2 separate regions of the Homo sapiens genome follow, and region 1 is linked to region 2. The links are contacts of gene promoters, found by promoter capture Hi-C in blood cells and fetal thymus (Javierre and others, 2016). All regions are on one chromosome and are shown on one strand. The core of a region is centred on a gene start or on the middle of the fragment in contact, and the rest is flanking DNA. Distances in the headings are between cores, read along the strand shown. Region 1 has its middle 18 kb from the start of PCNX1. Region 2 holds the start of SUSD6 (sushi domain containing 6).

Evidence for each region. Contacts are between HindIII fragments. The CHiCAGO score rates a contact against its expected background, and 5 or more counts as called.
Region 1: a contact is called between a fragment that was not itself captured here and the fragment with the promoter of SUSD6 in region 2, in 1 of 17 cell types (M1 macrophages). The highest score is 6.5, in M1 macrophages.

What each region holds. Positions count from the first base shown.
Region 1 is chr14:70,885,190-70,892,754 of GRCh38, reverse strand. No RefSeq gene overlaps it. Among named protein-coding and RNA genes, the nearest start is that of PCNX1, 18 kb to the left of the region's middle. RefSeq lists an enhancer at 5,142-5,451. The HindIII fragment of the contact is 2,813 bases long and covers 2,633-5,445 here.
Region 2 is chr14:69,607,444-69,614,864 of GRCh38, reverse strand. SUSD6 (sushi domain containing 6) reads right to left here and starts at 3,269. Exons shown (of 6, transcript NM_014734.4): 1 at 3,037-3,269. RefSeq lists a silencer at 2,751-3,520. The HindIII fragment of the contact is 10,737 bases long and covers 1-7,421 here.

The DNA of each region.
Region 1 (7,565 bases), core at 2,790-5,289, 1.3 Mb before region 2:
ACGATGAGCCACATTCTCCACTGATGTCTTTTGGAGATACTCAAAATGGATGATATTCACACAAGCAGGCACACTGTCATAGGAAAACTCAGATTCAAACTTTGGTGAAACCCAGTATTTTCCAGGGAGGAAAGCAAGGCAATAACTTATAATCACAAAAACTATTATTATCTCCACCAGCCATGGTCTTTTAGTGCTACTGCACAGATATAACTGATGTGTGTGATTCCCCAGATAGCTTGCTGCAATTTGACCTATTCTTTCTGCTCAAAAAATGCACTTCAGGCCAGGCGCGGTGGCTCTCACCTGTAATCTAAGCACTTTCGGAGGCCGAGGCAGGTGGATCCCCTGAGATCAGGAGTTCAAGACCAGCCTGGCCAACATGGCAAATCCCCATCTCTACTGAACATACAAAAATCAGCCAGGCTTGGTGGTGCATGCCTGTAATCCCAGCTACCAGTTCTGAGGGGGAGCTGAGGCAAAAGTATCACTTGAACCTGGGAGGTGGAGGTTGCAGTGAGCCGAGATCGTGCCACTGCACTCCAGCCTGGGCAACAGAGCAAGACTCCATCTCAAAAAAAAAAAAAAATGCACTTCAATACAAGAAAATGAGAGACTCTTGACTTATGATTCTAAATTATCACCATCAAATATAATTCTTTTGTTAATGACGAATTCTTGTGTGAAACGTCTCACAACTGAATGCCATACAGTGGAATAGAACCTGTTTACTGGGAAGGGTGTAGGATTGGGATTCAGAGAGACTGTGTTCATTTCTGGATTGTAACTCACTACCTGTTGCTTAAGAAAGCAAGTCTATTTCCTCATCTGTGGAATGCATAAAATGACCCCTTTATCTCAGGCTTACTGAGAGAATTAAATCAGGTTTGAAACAGTATGCTGTAAATTGCCAGGCAAGTGTCAATCATTGTCATTGTCTCCCACAGCTGCCAGTTCCTTGCATGGGCCACCATGTCTGTAGCATAGCCCCATAGAGTGTCTAGATTTTTCCTGCTACAAGCCCACAGAAGAGCCTCCTCAGTGATGCAATACATACGTTAATTTCTTAAGGTTAAAAAATAATTTCTCTAAATTGAGGTGAGTTGATATACTTTTCCAACCCAAATATCAGGTCTACTTCAGCAGCTGCTAAAGGAAAGAAATTACCCCTGCTCCTATTTCTCTCTGCTCCTGCAGAGTAAAACAGCAGCTAAAAACCAAGATTCTCTGACACTATTTCCTTTCTCAGCATTATAGGCCAGTATCCTGGGATCTGACATTAACCATTAGGAATTTCTTCAGCAGCAGCAGACTGGGAAAAGCAACTGCCAGTACTAAAGGAATACATTAAAACTCTTTTAAAAAAAAAAGTCACGAAGATAGTTGGATATGCTGAGTTGACTCAGACTCTTCAATATAGAGCAGTCATCTTGATGGCAACATTCATCCTGACTACGCTAAACAGGTGACCTATTCTATCAGCGATGGTGTCCAGAGCCATTGAAACACAATGTACATCATTATGTCATATACGAGGGGAAAGTTGACTAAGGTTCCAAGATCCCAAGGGTTTTAATTAATAGGAAAATTTGATTCAATAATAGTCATTTAAAAAAATGGAAGGAAAACAAGGGGAGGGAGTGATAAGGGTGGGAAGCATAGACAGGAAGCTGTATAAAATGCCCTGAAGGCTTGAAGTTGGCACTACTATAAGTCAGGGCCAGATTAGCTAGGGGACTGAAATAGCCGCAGAGAAAGAGTCCAGGAGCTACCAACACAACCATTCTAATCATGTTCTTCTCTTATCAAGCAAACTCCACTTCCTTTCTTTATCATCTACTTTATAAGTGCTCACTAGTGGCTCCACTACCAGCTTCCCCTGCAGAACTGAGAGGCTCAACTATTCCTGTTGGGGTAAAAATGATGAGAAAAATATCTCAGGATATTTCTGACTCTCTTCTCTCCACCCCCATGAACATCTCCCACCCCCAGGGCCCCAATTCTGCTTTTCTTCACTTAAAAAACTTCAAGCCAGGCCAGGTGCAGCGGCTAATGCCTGTAATCCCAACATTTTGAGAGGTTCAGGTGGGCAGATCCCTTGGGCTCAGGAGTTCGAGACCAGCCTGGGCAACATGGCAAAACCCTGTCTCTACAAAAAATATAAAAAATGAACTGGGCATGGTGGTGTGCATCTGCAATCCCAGCTGGGGCTACCCAGGAGGCTGAGGCGGGAGGATCAACTGATCTTGAGAGGTCAAGGCTGCAGTGAACCGTGATTACACCACTGCATTACAGCTTGGGCGATGGAGTGAAACCCTGTCTCAGAAAAAATTTAAACCCTCAAATCATCCCTCTTCGGTGAAGCCTTCCTTGACCTCTCCAGCACTTACTAATTTTTATTTTTCTTAATACCTATGACTTGTACATAACACAGTAAATGGACACAGTAGACATATTTCTGTCTCATGTGTGCTGACCTTTTCTTCTCAAATAGATTATAAACACTTTGAGGACGGGACTCATTTTAAACTTCTTGAAATCATCTGCCAAATTCTGTGATTTGGTGATTAGCCCGGCTAGGATCAACTTAGGCCCTAGAGTATCTCTATAGTTGGGGAGAATGTAAAAAGCTTTAGAGGTACTAAAAACGCAAAAATGAAAAGCAGAGTATGAGTTTCTCAGCATGATAGCATCAAATCAGCCTTGCTACTGGACCTACACAAACCTTTTCTTTGATTCTAGTAGCCAGTCTTATTCCTGAAGATCAAGTCCCTAACAGCCTGTCCGTAGGTCCCTTTTCAGTGACTCTTGTTGATATCTCATTTGTTCTAGATTGTGCGCTTTCTCTTGCTAATCCTTTAAAAAAAAAAAAGAAACCCAAATCCTGCCTCTGAACCTCACCCTCGAAGGTGCAGTCCCTGCTACCCACTATCCTGAGCAGCCCCTTTGGATTTCATGACTGCCCAGACCTCTGTAGTGCGTGGGCTGTGCTCCACCCACCTGTAGTTAATCTCACACCCTACCTGGCACTGGCTGGCCAGTCTGCTTCTTTGGTCTGCCTCTTTCTGCCAAGATCTTCTGGAAACGCCTGCCTTGCTCCTGGGCTCCTGGCTGGTCCCCGCATCCTTTCCATTTTGCCATCAACTAAGCCATCATTCTCAGATTTAAGAAAAAGAATTCCCCTCAATATTAAAGACACAGCAGACACATACACGTGCAAATACCCATAGTCATAAGTTCCTTTATCATTGAGAAAATTTTTACTACCTTCCTAAATTTATATTCTCCCTTTTCAGGCATTTAGCATCATCTCTAGGTCTTCCAATGTTATGCTTGGAATTTTCTTTAAATAAAAGTGGCCCTTAGAGGTCATTTACTCCAACCTTCTTATTTTACTCCTGGTCTCTACTACCCTACCTTTACGCATCTATTTAGAAGCTAGTGGCACAGGATTTTTGCTAATGATGCCTTTATTGAGGGATTTTCTTTGTCTGTTAGTAAATTACCATGATGCTAGAAGATTTTACAGAAAGTCTCAACTTAGTAATCAGCTACCATCAAAATACATTTATCTATTATTAAGGTAAGACAATTTCCTTCTCAGCCCCAGAAGGGAGGCACATGCACACAAGTATGCACACACACACACACTCACAATGTGATCAGCCAGCTCTCTGTCTGGAAAAATCAAAATACCTCCCAGCTGGAATGACAGCATCATTTTATTAACGCTGAAATAGGAGGGTGATAAAGCAAGTCTCAGCAGGCATAGCAGAAATGCACTGCTTTTATGATTCATATTTCAAAAATGATGCCATGGGAGCAAAAATGCAAAGCAGAGCTTATTATATGCTAGCAAAAATGGAGTGAAGGGTAGTCACCTCAGCTGTGCCTTTTAAGCTCTAAAGGAAGCAACACCACTACCAATTTTCTCTCCTCACCCTGAGGTTGCAACAGACACTTGGATTTGTCTACAGCCATTACTTCATTGTTCTCTGTGCTGTGAGTGGGCTAAGAAAATGATGTTGTTTCCTGTGTGATGATCTTGCTAGAGCTTTGGAGGTACTAAGGAGAATTGCAAAGAAACAGAATCATTAGTACAGTCATCCTTCATCCCTAGTTGTGGGGGGTGGGGAGAAATTGCTTCCAGGACTCCAGGATACCAAAATCTGGGGGATGCTTAAGTCCCTAATATAAAATGATGTAGTACTTGTATGTAACCTATGCACATCCTCCCATAGTTTAAATCATCTTTAGATTACTTATAATATCTAATACAATGTAAATGCTATGTAAATATGTGTTACACTGTATTATTTTTATTTTTATTGTGTATTATTATTATTTTTTTAGTGTTTTTCACCCTCAGTTGGTTGAGTCTGTATATACAGAACCTGTGGATATGGAGGGCCAGCTATATTGTCCTCCGTAGCGCCACCTCTTGATGAGGGGCTGTTGTTGGCCCCTGCAATAGACTGAATGTCTGTCCTCCCCAGATTTATATGTTGAAACCTAATTCTCCTCATGATGGTATTTGGAGGTGAGACTTTTGGGAGGCGATGAGATGTAGCCCTCATGTATGGGATTAGCACCCTTTTAAAAGAGATCCCAGAGAGGTCCTTTGTCCCTTCTGCCATGTGAAGACAGCCATCTATGAACCAGGTAACAGGCTCTCACCAGACACAAAATCTGCTGGCACCTTGATTTTGGACTTCCAAGCCACCAGAACTGTGAGAAATACATTTCTGTGGTTTATGAGCCATTCAGTGTATAGTATTTTGTTATAGCAGCCCAGATGAACAACACAACTATGCTTTCCAAACCCAGAATCCACAGGGTATGTGTGCTGCTTCTCTCTCTGCTTTGCTTGGGGAGAAAGGAATATAAAGGACCCCTGGGAATCCCTTCCCCTGGAGGTTTCCAGCTGCCTGCTTTTGACTTTGACTTCTCTTCTCTCACATGCAAGTAAAGAAAACAATACTGGGTTAACATTTTCTAAGCTGTACAACCTTAGGACAGTGCCATTGGAAGGAAAATAGGCTAGAAATCAGAAAAGATGGGCTTGATTCCAAAGATTTCAGTCAGATCTTTGACGTCAAGATATCACAAACCCTCCTTCTTCAAAGTGCAGGCACTGTCTGTTGGCTCACATCATCCGTGAGCACTTAGAGTTCCTTGAGTAAGAAGTACTGCCTTCTATAAACATCTCTGCATCTGGAGACTTATTCCTGGACATTGCTAATGAGTCAGTGAAAAACCCCAAATGATCTATGTATCAATTCCTGTTTTACACTTTCAGTTTATACAATAAATGAGAAAAAGGGCTAAGCTCAATTTGCTGGAAGTTGACAGTCCATTTTTATTTTGAAATCATTGTTGGTAATTTCATACCAAAGGAGAGGCTTACAGCAAGAGAGTAGAAATGAAAGCAGAAATGAGAAAGCTTATATAGTCTCAATTTCGATGACTCTAAAAACATTGATCAATCAACAATGCAGCTCATCCAGGAAAACCAAAACACTTTGTGGTAGGCAGAATTCTAAGCCCCTAAGGTTTCCTGCCTCTGGGATCTGTGAGCCTTCTCCCACTTACTCAATCAAACAGCAACCTAGATTCTGCTGTGAAGGGATTTTGCAGATGTAATTAAGGTCCCAAGATAGGGAGATTGTCTGGGTGGGCTTGATCTAATAGCACGAGCCCTTTAACTCTGAGTCTGGAGGTCAAAGACAGAAAAAAATCAAAGAGGTTTGAAGCATGAGAAGAATTCAACAAAGGGGAGATTCTCTATTGCTGACTATGAAGATAAAAGGACCAAGTGGTAAGAAATGCGGCAGTTTCTAGGAACTGAGAGTGGCCCCCAGCTGACAGCCAGCCAGGAAACAGGGACCTCAGTCCCCCAACCGCAAGAAACTGAATCTGTGACAACCAGAATGAGCTTCCACAAGGCCCTTGAGCTCCAGATAAGAACACTGCCCAGCTGACATCTTGATTTAGCCCTGTGAGGAGATCAGTGGAGTCACACCCTTCCCAGTTCTGGGGGAAAACCTGTAAAGTAATGAATGGGGAGTTGTTTTAAGGGGATAAATTTATGATGATTTAGTATGCAGCATAGAACTAAAATCCACACTTCCTGAATGGTTTTAAAGCCTCTTAGCCTAACCCTAAGACCAAAACCCAACCTCCTTCAAAGAGAAACCTGCCAACCACTGTGAACCAAATCTATCAGACAAGTCTCTTGTGATTCAAATTATAACCCACGGCCCGACAGCATACATGTGGCCTAAGAAATGCAGCATCTCAGGTCCCATCTGGATCTACTGAATCAAAACCTTCATTTTAACAAATCGCCTGGTGACTTATATACACATTAAAGTGTGAGAAGCACCAGTTAGCATTTTAATGCAGAGCTGGAGATCTGGAATCAGCAAAACCCATGTTCCCAAGCTGGCTCTACAGTTTTACTAGCTATGCGGACTTAGACAAGTTACTTAACCTCTCTGAACTTCTATTAATCGGTAAAATGGAGCAGGTAATAGTACTGACTTTATAGAGTTGTGGTGAGGATTAAATGGGACAGTATGTAAAGTGCTTTAGCCCTGCATTTTGGCCTGTCGTTAGCCTGGCAAACAGTAAGGGCTTAATAAATTGTTGCTTATTATTGGATTGGGCAGTAATAGCATCAATTGAATGTAGAGGGAGCAGGTAAACTGTATCAGTTGGAAACTTGCAGGATCACTGTGGCTGGCATCCTCTGATTAAATATGTTGTCACGCAGCTCCTCAGAGACTGCAAAAGGTTGTGACCTTGGTTTTCTACCTAACACAAGGCTGGGTCAGCCATGCCATTCCATCCCAATGCCTGTAACCATCTGTGTATCCCCCGACCCTCTCCCTTGTCGGTATTTAACCTCACTGGGCTTGACCTCACTTAGCTAATGAGATCTGGCCAGAAACCATGGAGATGGTTGTCAGCAACTCGGGGCAGGTGGTATCCCTGAATACCAATGGCAGCTCAATCCACAGAAAAGATGAAGAGATGTGCCAGGGGCAAAACACAGCCTGTTGAACTGTTTTAACAGAAATCTAAGGTTCTTCTTATTTTTGTTGGAGGGAATGATGGCAATGGTGACAATGGTGTTGGCATTACTGAGTATAAGAATGAATGTATAAATCAACAGTGACAAATGAGTAATACATAAGCCAGAGAGCTTTTGTGATCAATTCTGCAGAGGCCCGTTCCCCCTCCTGGTGGTTTCTCTGTTCTTGGCAAAGACTCCTCTCACTTGCTTTATTTCTCAGCCTGAGCCACAGCAATCTCTATAGTTCAATATAAATAATGAGGGTGATATTGATAATAACAATAGCTCTCATTTATTGAGTGCTCCAAGTGCCAGGCACTCTTCATATATTATTTATACTCCTTATAACAACTCTTTGAGGTAGACATTATTATGTTCCTTTTTAGCCAAGGAAACAGAAGCCTCAGAGAGGTTAAGTGGCTTGCCCAAGTTTACACAGCAGATAAGATAGTCTTGGATTCAAACCTGAGTCTGTTTGACTCTGAAA
Region 2 (7,421 bases), core at 2,020-4,519:
TGAATTGTCTCTTAATAAATGGGGAACTAGAGGGGAAAGACAACCACGTGTGCCCTCTGGCCTTCCCTCTCTGCTGGCAAGTGGTTCTGCTTCATTCTCCACAGTTCACTTGTTTGGTACTGAAATGAGGAAGAGTATGTACCTCACTATTTTTTTTTAAAGATGCTGTATTTCTCCCAGCCTACAAATGATACCAGTAGTAACTTGGTTGTCAGAAGAGCTAAGGATATGAAAAAAGGGCAGAAGAAAATATTTGAAGCAAAAGCCAAGTTTTTATGTGGGAAATGGACAAGTGTGGAGGGAGTGAAACAATGCTTAGTAGCAATAAACTTGAAAGAAGTTCTAACTTTAAAGAAACCAGGTGAATTATTACCTTTTGGAAGGGGTGTGTGTGTGCATGTAGAGGGAAGGCTGCTGCAGGAATTGCTGCCCCACCAAAAGAGCAAAGGAGGACATCCCCTACTGAGAGATGCAACATTACATAAGAACACAAGTTCAGGCCGGGCACGGTGGCTCACGCCCGTAATCCCAACACTTTGGGAGGCCAAGACGGGCAGATCACCTGAGGTCAGGCGTTCGAGACCAGCCTAGCCAACATGGTAAAACCAAGTCTCTACTAAAAATACAAAAATTAGCCAGGCGTGATGACACGCACCTGTAGTCCCAGCTGCTCAGGAGGCTGAGGCAGAGAATCGTTTGAACCTGGGAGGTGAAGGTTGCAGTGAGCCGAGATCGTGCCACTGCACTCCAGCCCGGGTGACAGAGCGAGACTCCATCTCAAAAAAAATAAAAAATAAAAAAGAACACAAGTTCAATCACCACACCTCAGAGACTGACCAGGAAAACAGACAAAGTGCTGAGGTCTCTTTATCTGCCAGCCTGTATCTGTAACACCTCATTCTACCCTTCTTTCTCTTCTATCTCACCAAATTCTGGGCTTTCAGAAGGCAGGCTTCAGCGAAAGAAGTCAAACTTGCCCATTTGACAGTGGGTTTGCTCTCAGGGTTTAAACACTGAGCACCCTGGCACCTGTCTCTATCTAGGTGTAAGTGAGGATTTGTTTCATATGCCATTTCTACTACAGTATCCAAAAAATTACTCTGCAGACAGGAAGTCCTATCTATCAGGACTCATACCAATACTGTCCTCTGTTTAACTCGCTGGGCAGAAGTTCCTTCAGCAGCAAATGGCCAGCAATGAAAGCTAACAACATAAACCAAAACAAATGGACTTAAAGGCTGTGAGTCCATGAGAGCTGGATTCTGACTTATTCAATGCAGTACCTGCAATACCTAGCACAGTGCCTGGCATACATTCGGTATCACATAACTACTTGGGAGTACTGAATGAAAGAATGAACAAATGAATCTTATGCAAACATACCGTAAGTGTGTACCCAGGAGAAAGAGTTTAGAATGCTCATGATCTGAGAAACAGCCTGAAGCAGCAGTGCTTTCAGAAGGTTTTAGAAAGACTCCAGGTTCAATTTTATCAAAAGGTAAACAAACCAGAAACTAGCAGTATAATCTAGTAGTTCAGACTGTGGGCTCCACCATGAGATACCTATGTGACATGGGCGAGTTATTTAACTTGTTTGGTTTGGGTCTCAACTAGAAGAATGGGGATAATAATATCTACATCAAAAGTCTGTTATTAAATGAGTTCAAAAAAGTAAAGCCCTTAGCACAAAGGTTGGTACTCAGTAAGTCCTCAAGAACCTTTCCATATTATTGCTGCTTAAATACCTTCTTTCCTGAGATGTAGACATACCTCCCCCAACTCCAGGAAAATTTTAATTTCTGGTTGAATATGCTTCTAGCTAAAAACACAAAACCCAGAGAACTCAGAAGTCAGTGCCAAGCACATGTCTCTACTAGCCTCCACTAGATGGTGACAGTTTGGGTGTGGAATTCCCAAAACAGAAAAGGTGTGTGTGCGTAACTCCTATGTATGTTTTTACACCAGAGGAACGAAAACAGCAAGAAATGAATTAACTACTGTGAAGGAAAGACATACTTCCCATCTCTGTAGATCAAAAAAGGGAGTAAATCCCTAGGCCTAATTGAACTGAGTAATCTTACTGCACCTCTGGAAGAGCACACAGGAGCCCAGTTAGCGAGAGCAACAAAGCCCAGCATGTCGCCTGCCACTGAAAGAAAATTCTGTGGGAACAACAGCTTTAGGCCTCCTTGCCCAGACGCCAACTTCCCTTTAACCAGCCCAAGACTTTATTTTGACGCCTCTTTGCTCCTGGGTCTTGCTGTCCCCATAACCACCTCCCCCTCCTGCTCCTAAATTCGTCCAGGGTAACTTTTCTCCACTTCAGCAGCTCCCCAGCCACGACTCCCATGAGGGAGAGTCAGATCCACACTCATAGCTGGGGTCTCAAAACCAAGCGAAAAAAGGAAAGTCTGTATGTACGTGCCTACTTTTTGAAAGAAAATAGCTGGTTTCGGGGAGTTTAGCCTGGTTAATAAGAGAAGTTTTTGAGATTAAAGAGCAGCCGAGGCGCGGGGGCTCCCGAATGCCGCGGTGCGCACAGGCGGGCTCTGAGATTTCCTCAGGAAATCCACCTTCTCTAAGCCAGCCCTGCCCCAGCGCAAGCCCCGCAGCTTTGCTGGGCTGAGGGCAGTAATGACAGTGGCACAGAGGGCCTCTGCCTACCTCCTCTGCACCCATCGGCACGGCGTCTGGCTCTTCCGGTGCTGCCCGGGCAGCGACGCGGGACGGCGCGCCCCGGACCGCGGGTCACCAAGTTCCCGGCCGCAAACCAGCCGCCGGTCCCCCCGGCCGCGCAGCCCCCACTGCTGGCCGGCTGGCCGCGCCACGCCAGCGCGGGGCTCCCAGCGGCGCGGCTCGCGGCCGGGTGACAGCGGGCCGGCGCAGAGAAGCGCGGGGAGCCGCCGAAGCCGGCCCGGGCTCCGGCCAGCGTCACTCCTGGGCGGTGCGCGCTGGTCCCGCGCCCCTGACAGCCGGCCGAGCGCGTCGATGGCACAATGCCGGCCCCGCCGCCCCCGGGCCGCGGTGACAACTCACCCGGGAGCCGGCGGAGACCTCCGGGATGGGGGCGCTCACAGCTTCCACGCCGCCGCTTGCGCGCGCCCGCAGTCTTCTCGGGTCTAGGCGAGGCCCCGCGTGCCCTTGTCTAGCTCGCTCTGGCCGGCGCTGTGGGCAGAGGAAGCGGGCGGGAGGGAGGGAGGAGGTGGGGCGGTCGCCGGCTTCGGAGAATAGAACGCGGCGGTAGCGACGGCTGCAGCGCCCGCGTCACTGACCCAGCTGTACCGCGCGGGCGGGGGAGGCCCCGCGGAGGGGAGGGGGCGGGGAAGGGGCGGGAAAGGGGCAGGGCCAGGCGCGCACGCAACGGCGCCGGCGTCGCGCCGCCGCGACCGCCCCGCCGGGAGGCCCTGCACGCACGCGCCGCCGGCCGGGCCAGGTACCCAAGGGAGAAGCGACGCGGTTGGGGAGGTGGGGGGTCCTTAAAGAGACAGTCCCTCTGCGCTGGAGTGGATGGGGCGGTGGCACCGACTCAGCTGGACTATGCGGCGTTTCCAGTGCGCTCTCCAGTTCGTTTACTATTATTATTATTTGCATGATTGAATTACTATTATTTGCAAAGAATTGTACTGCCCTGAGGTTTACAAGGCTTTTGGCGCATGTTGCCTTGTTAGCTCTTGAATTGCTCGTCTGACCTAGCTCGTCTGAAGCAGGTTATTATCTCCCTGTTAAGCAGTAATCCGAACTGTGGTTCCTAGCCTGCCAACATTAAAGCTGCCCGGGGGGTGGGTGGGGGTGAAAATGCAGATTCGGGGCCCCGAATGACCTCCAGCCATTGTGATTCAGTGGGGTCGGACTTGGGAATCTGTATTTTCACTAGCATTCTGAAGTGAGTGATCCTTCAGCATACTAAAAGCACACAAGGGATCTCAAGGTTGAGAAAACCGCAGTTCAGAGCCAGGACTGGCAGAGCCCGGGCTAGAAGCCTGCCACATTCCTAACTGTATTTCCCCTCTTGAGCCTTGCCTTCTGGGGCTATTTTCTAGCACATACTGAGTGAGCAGTTTGTGCACTGTATGGCTACATCGTTTATTGGTGATCTCTCATGCAGTGTGTCCTCGGTTTATGTGTTTACAGGGCCCGTGGCGCCTTGATGGGGAGGACTCTGGCTTTTTATCTTTGTACCCCAGGGCCTTGCACCGTGTCGGTCTCAGAGGTCCTCCATAAGTGTTAAGGAACTCCTACTTGTAAATCAGTGGTAGAGTCCACATCTGGACCTACAGACTTGTGTCTTTGCTGCAGCTTGGGTCAGGCAGGCCTCTTCTCCCAGATGCTCTTGGACAAAAGGATACACCTTCTCAGGGCCTCTCACCAGGCCTAGTTCTAGTAGGCTTTCGGGAAAAGCACTGTGAATTAACAGGGCATGTCCTTGTGAAGTAGCTTGAACCAAATAAACAGGATGCTCCTCCCCATGCACACAGACCCATCCCCAAAAGAACCCTTCCCTTCTGGGCCCCACAGCAACCTGTGGCTCGTTGCTATAATGCCTTTTTCATAAGTCTATCCTTGTTCTGCCTTCTTTCTTCCTTGCCTTCTTGGGTCCAGACTCATTAGAGAAGATGGGCACCCCTCCCTTCCTGCTCATTTGGGGCCACACTGCCCAGACCACTAGAAGATTGAAAAGCACAATTCAGAACTACCTGGGTCTGCCTCAGAGCACAACCAAATCAGTGTGGGCAGCAGGAACATGCCAGGCAGACCCAAGGCTCAGGGAGGGGACAAGGGGGAAGGAAGCAAGGGAAAGGGATGGAGGAAGAATTGGAGAAGATGAATGGAGGAAGGAGAAAAAGAAAGAAAGGAAAGGGAAGAAAGCAGGCATGGATGGTTCAGGTCAGATCAACTGCCAAAGTAACTGAGCCCCTGGCTGTGCACTGAAGTCAGTTTGGCCATTAAGAGGCTCAGTAACTTCATACAAGAACTGCCACCTTATAAAATCCCTTGTGAGACCCTATGCAGATCTGTCCATCACTACCCAAAAATCCTCAGTCGGGCGCGGTAGCTCACGCCTGTAATCCCAGCACTTTGGGAGGCTAAGGCAGGCAGATCACGAAGTCAGGAGTTTGAGACCAGCCTGGACAACATGGCGAAACCCCTTCTCTACTAAAAATACAAAAATTAGCCAGGCGTGGTGGCACATGCCTGTAATCCTAGCTATTCAGGAGCCTGAGGCAGGAGAATTGCTTGAACTCAGGAAGCAGAGGTTGCAGTGAGCCGAGATCGTGCCATTGCATTCCAGCCTGGGTGACAGAGTGAGACTGTCTCAAAAAAAAAAAATCCTCTCCCAGACCTTCAGGGTCCACAGAATGAACTCAAAGTCATCAGCAAGGACTGTAGTATCCTGTGCTGTCCACAGTCCGGCCCAAATGCTCTCCATCCCTCCACACACCCCACTCCAGCCTCCCCATACCACCTGCTGGTCTCTAACAAGCCATTCCTGTCACAAACCAGGTGCCCATGCTGTTTCCTCAATCTTGAAGGCCTTCTCTACTTACCCTTCAGAATCTTCCCAAGGCTGCTGCTTCTACTTTTCTGTGGCACTTTGGTTGAGCCCCAAAGTGCCACAGAAAAGTATTAAATTAAAATTTTTAAACATTTTAAATATTTAATTATTTATTTATTTATTTTGACGGAGTCTTGCTCTGTCGCCCAGGCTGGAGTGCAGTGGCATGATCTGAGCTCACTGCAACCTCCGCCTCCCGGGTTCAGGGGATTCTCCTGCCTCAGTCTCCCGAGTAGCTGGGTTACAGCTGGGATTAGCTTCCATTTCCTTCTGCTTTGAATTGCCAGAATCAGGGTCAAGTCTCCTCCCTTTATAAATGTCAGCTCACCAGCCTTTCCTGTCTTCTCATCCCCTCCTATCTGAAGTTCCACTGGCCTCTTCAGTACAGCTGACGAAAAGCCCCTGTTACATTCTACGTATAGGCCTTGCTCTTCTCACCCGCAAAATGGAATGGTACTTCCTGGCCTGGGGTGAATATTATCTTTCTGCCATTGAAAAGATCTCACAAGATGAAGGTTAAGAATAATTTAGACTTAGACATTCTCAAGTGGGAGGGATCATAGATTTTTTTAAATAAAATTCTTTAAAATTTTTAAGATTTTTTTTTAATTTAACAGCTTTCTCACACCTGTAACCCCAGCATTTTGGGAAGCTGAGGCAGGCTGATCATTTGAGGCCAGAAGTTCAAGACCAGCCTGGCCAACATGGCAAAACCTCGTCTCTACTAAAAATATAAAAATTAGCCTGGCGTGGTGGTGCACGCCTGTAATCCCAGCTATGTGGGAGGCTAGTCACAAGAATTGCTTGAACCTGGGAGGCAGAGGCTGCAATGAGCTGAGATTGCGCCACTGCACTCCAGCCTGGGCGACAGAGTGAGACTGTGTCTTAAATAAATTAATTAATTAATTAACAGCTTTATTGAGATATTCACATACCAGCAATTCACAGTTTAAATTTGTATTTATTTTGTATAACTTTACAAATTGTACAAATTTGCACATGTACAATTGTACATTTAGAGTGAACAATTCAATGGTTTTTAGTATATTTACAGAGTCGTACAATATTTTAGAACATTTTCATGACCCTAAAAAAAACTCCCATACCCATCAGCAGTCACTACCATTTCCTCCCTCCCTACCACCTTCCCTGCCTCCCTCCCTAGGCAACCAACAATCTACTTTCTGTCTCTATAGATTTGCCTATTCTGAGCACTCTCTATAAATAGAATCATACAAATATGTGGCCTTTATAATTGATTTTTTGTTTCTTCCACCTAACAATCAATTTTAAACCAGAGCTAATTTTTTATTTTCACTTTTCAATTCAGACCCTGCCTTATTCTAAAAGGACTTAAGATGGCTCTTTGAGCTAATATTCCTGGGTCCTTCCAGATTTCCAGCATAAATCTTTTTTTTTTTTTTTTTTTTGACGGAGTCTTGCTCTGTCGCCCAGGCTGGAGTGCAGTGGCATGATCTGAGCTCACTGCAACCTCCGCCTCCCAGGTTCAGGGGATTCTCCTGTCTCAGTCTCCCGAGTAGCTGGGACTATAGGTGCGTACCCCCACACCCAGCTAATTTTTGTATTTTTAGTAGAGACAGGGTTTCACCACGTTAGCCAGGCTGGTCTCAAACTCCTGACCTCAGTGATCAGCCTGCTTCTGCCTCCCAAAGTGCTAGGATTACAGGCGTGAGTCACCACACCTGGCCAATTTCCAGCACAAATCTTAATATTCTGCTCTAAATCTAGGTGCTGGAATATGGCATGGGGGTTAGATTAGTCCCAGTTGGTGGTGAGTAGAATAGCCAGCCATCCCAGTTTGCCTGGGACTAAGGGGATTCCTGGCACATGGGACTTCCAGTGCCAA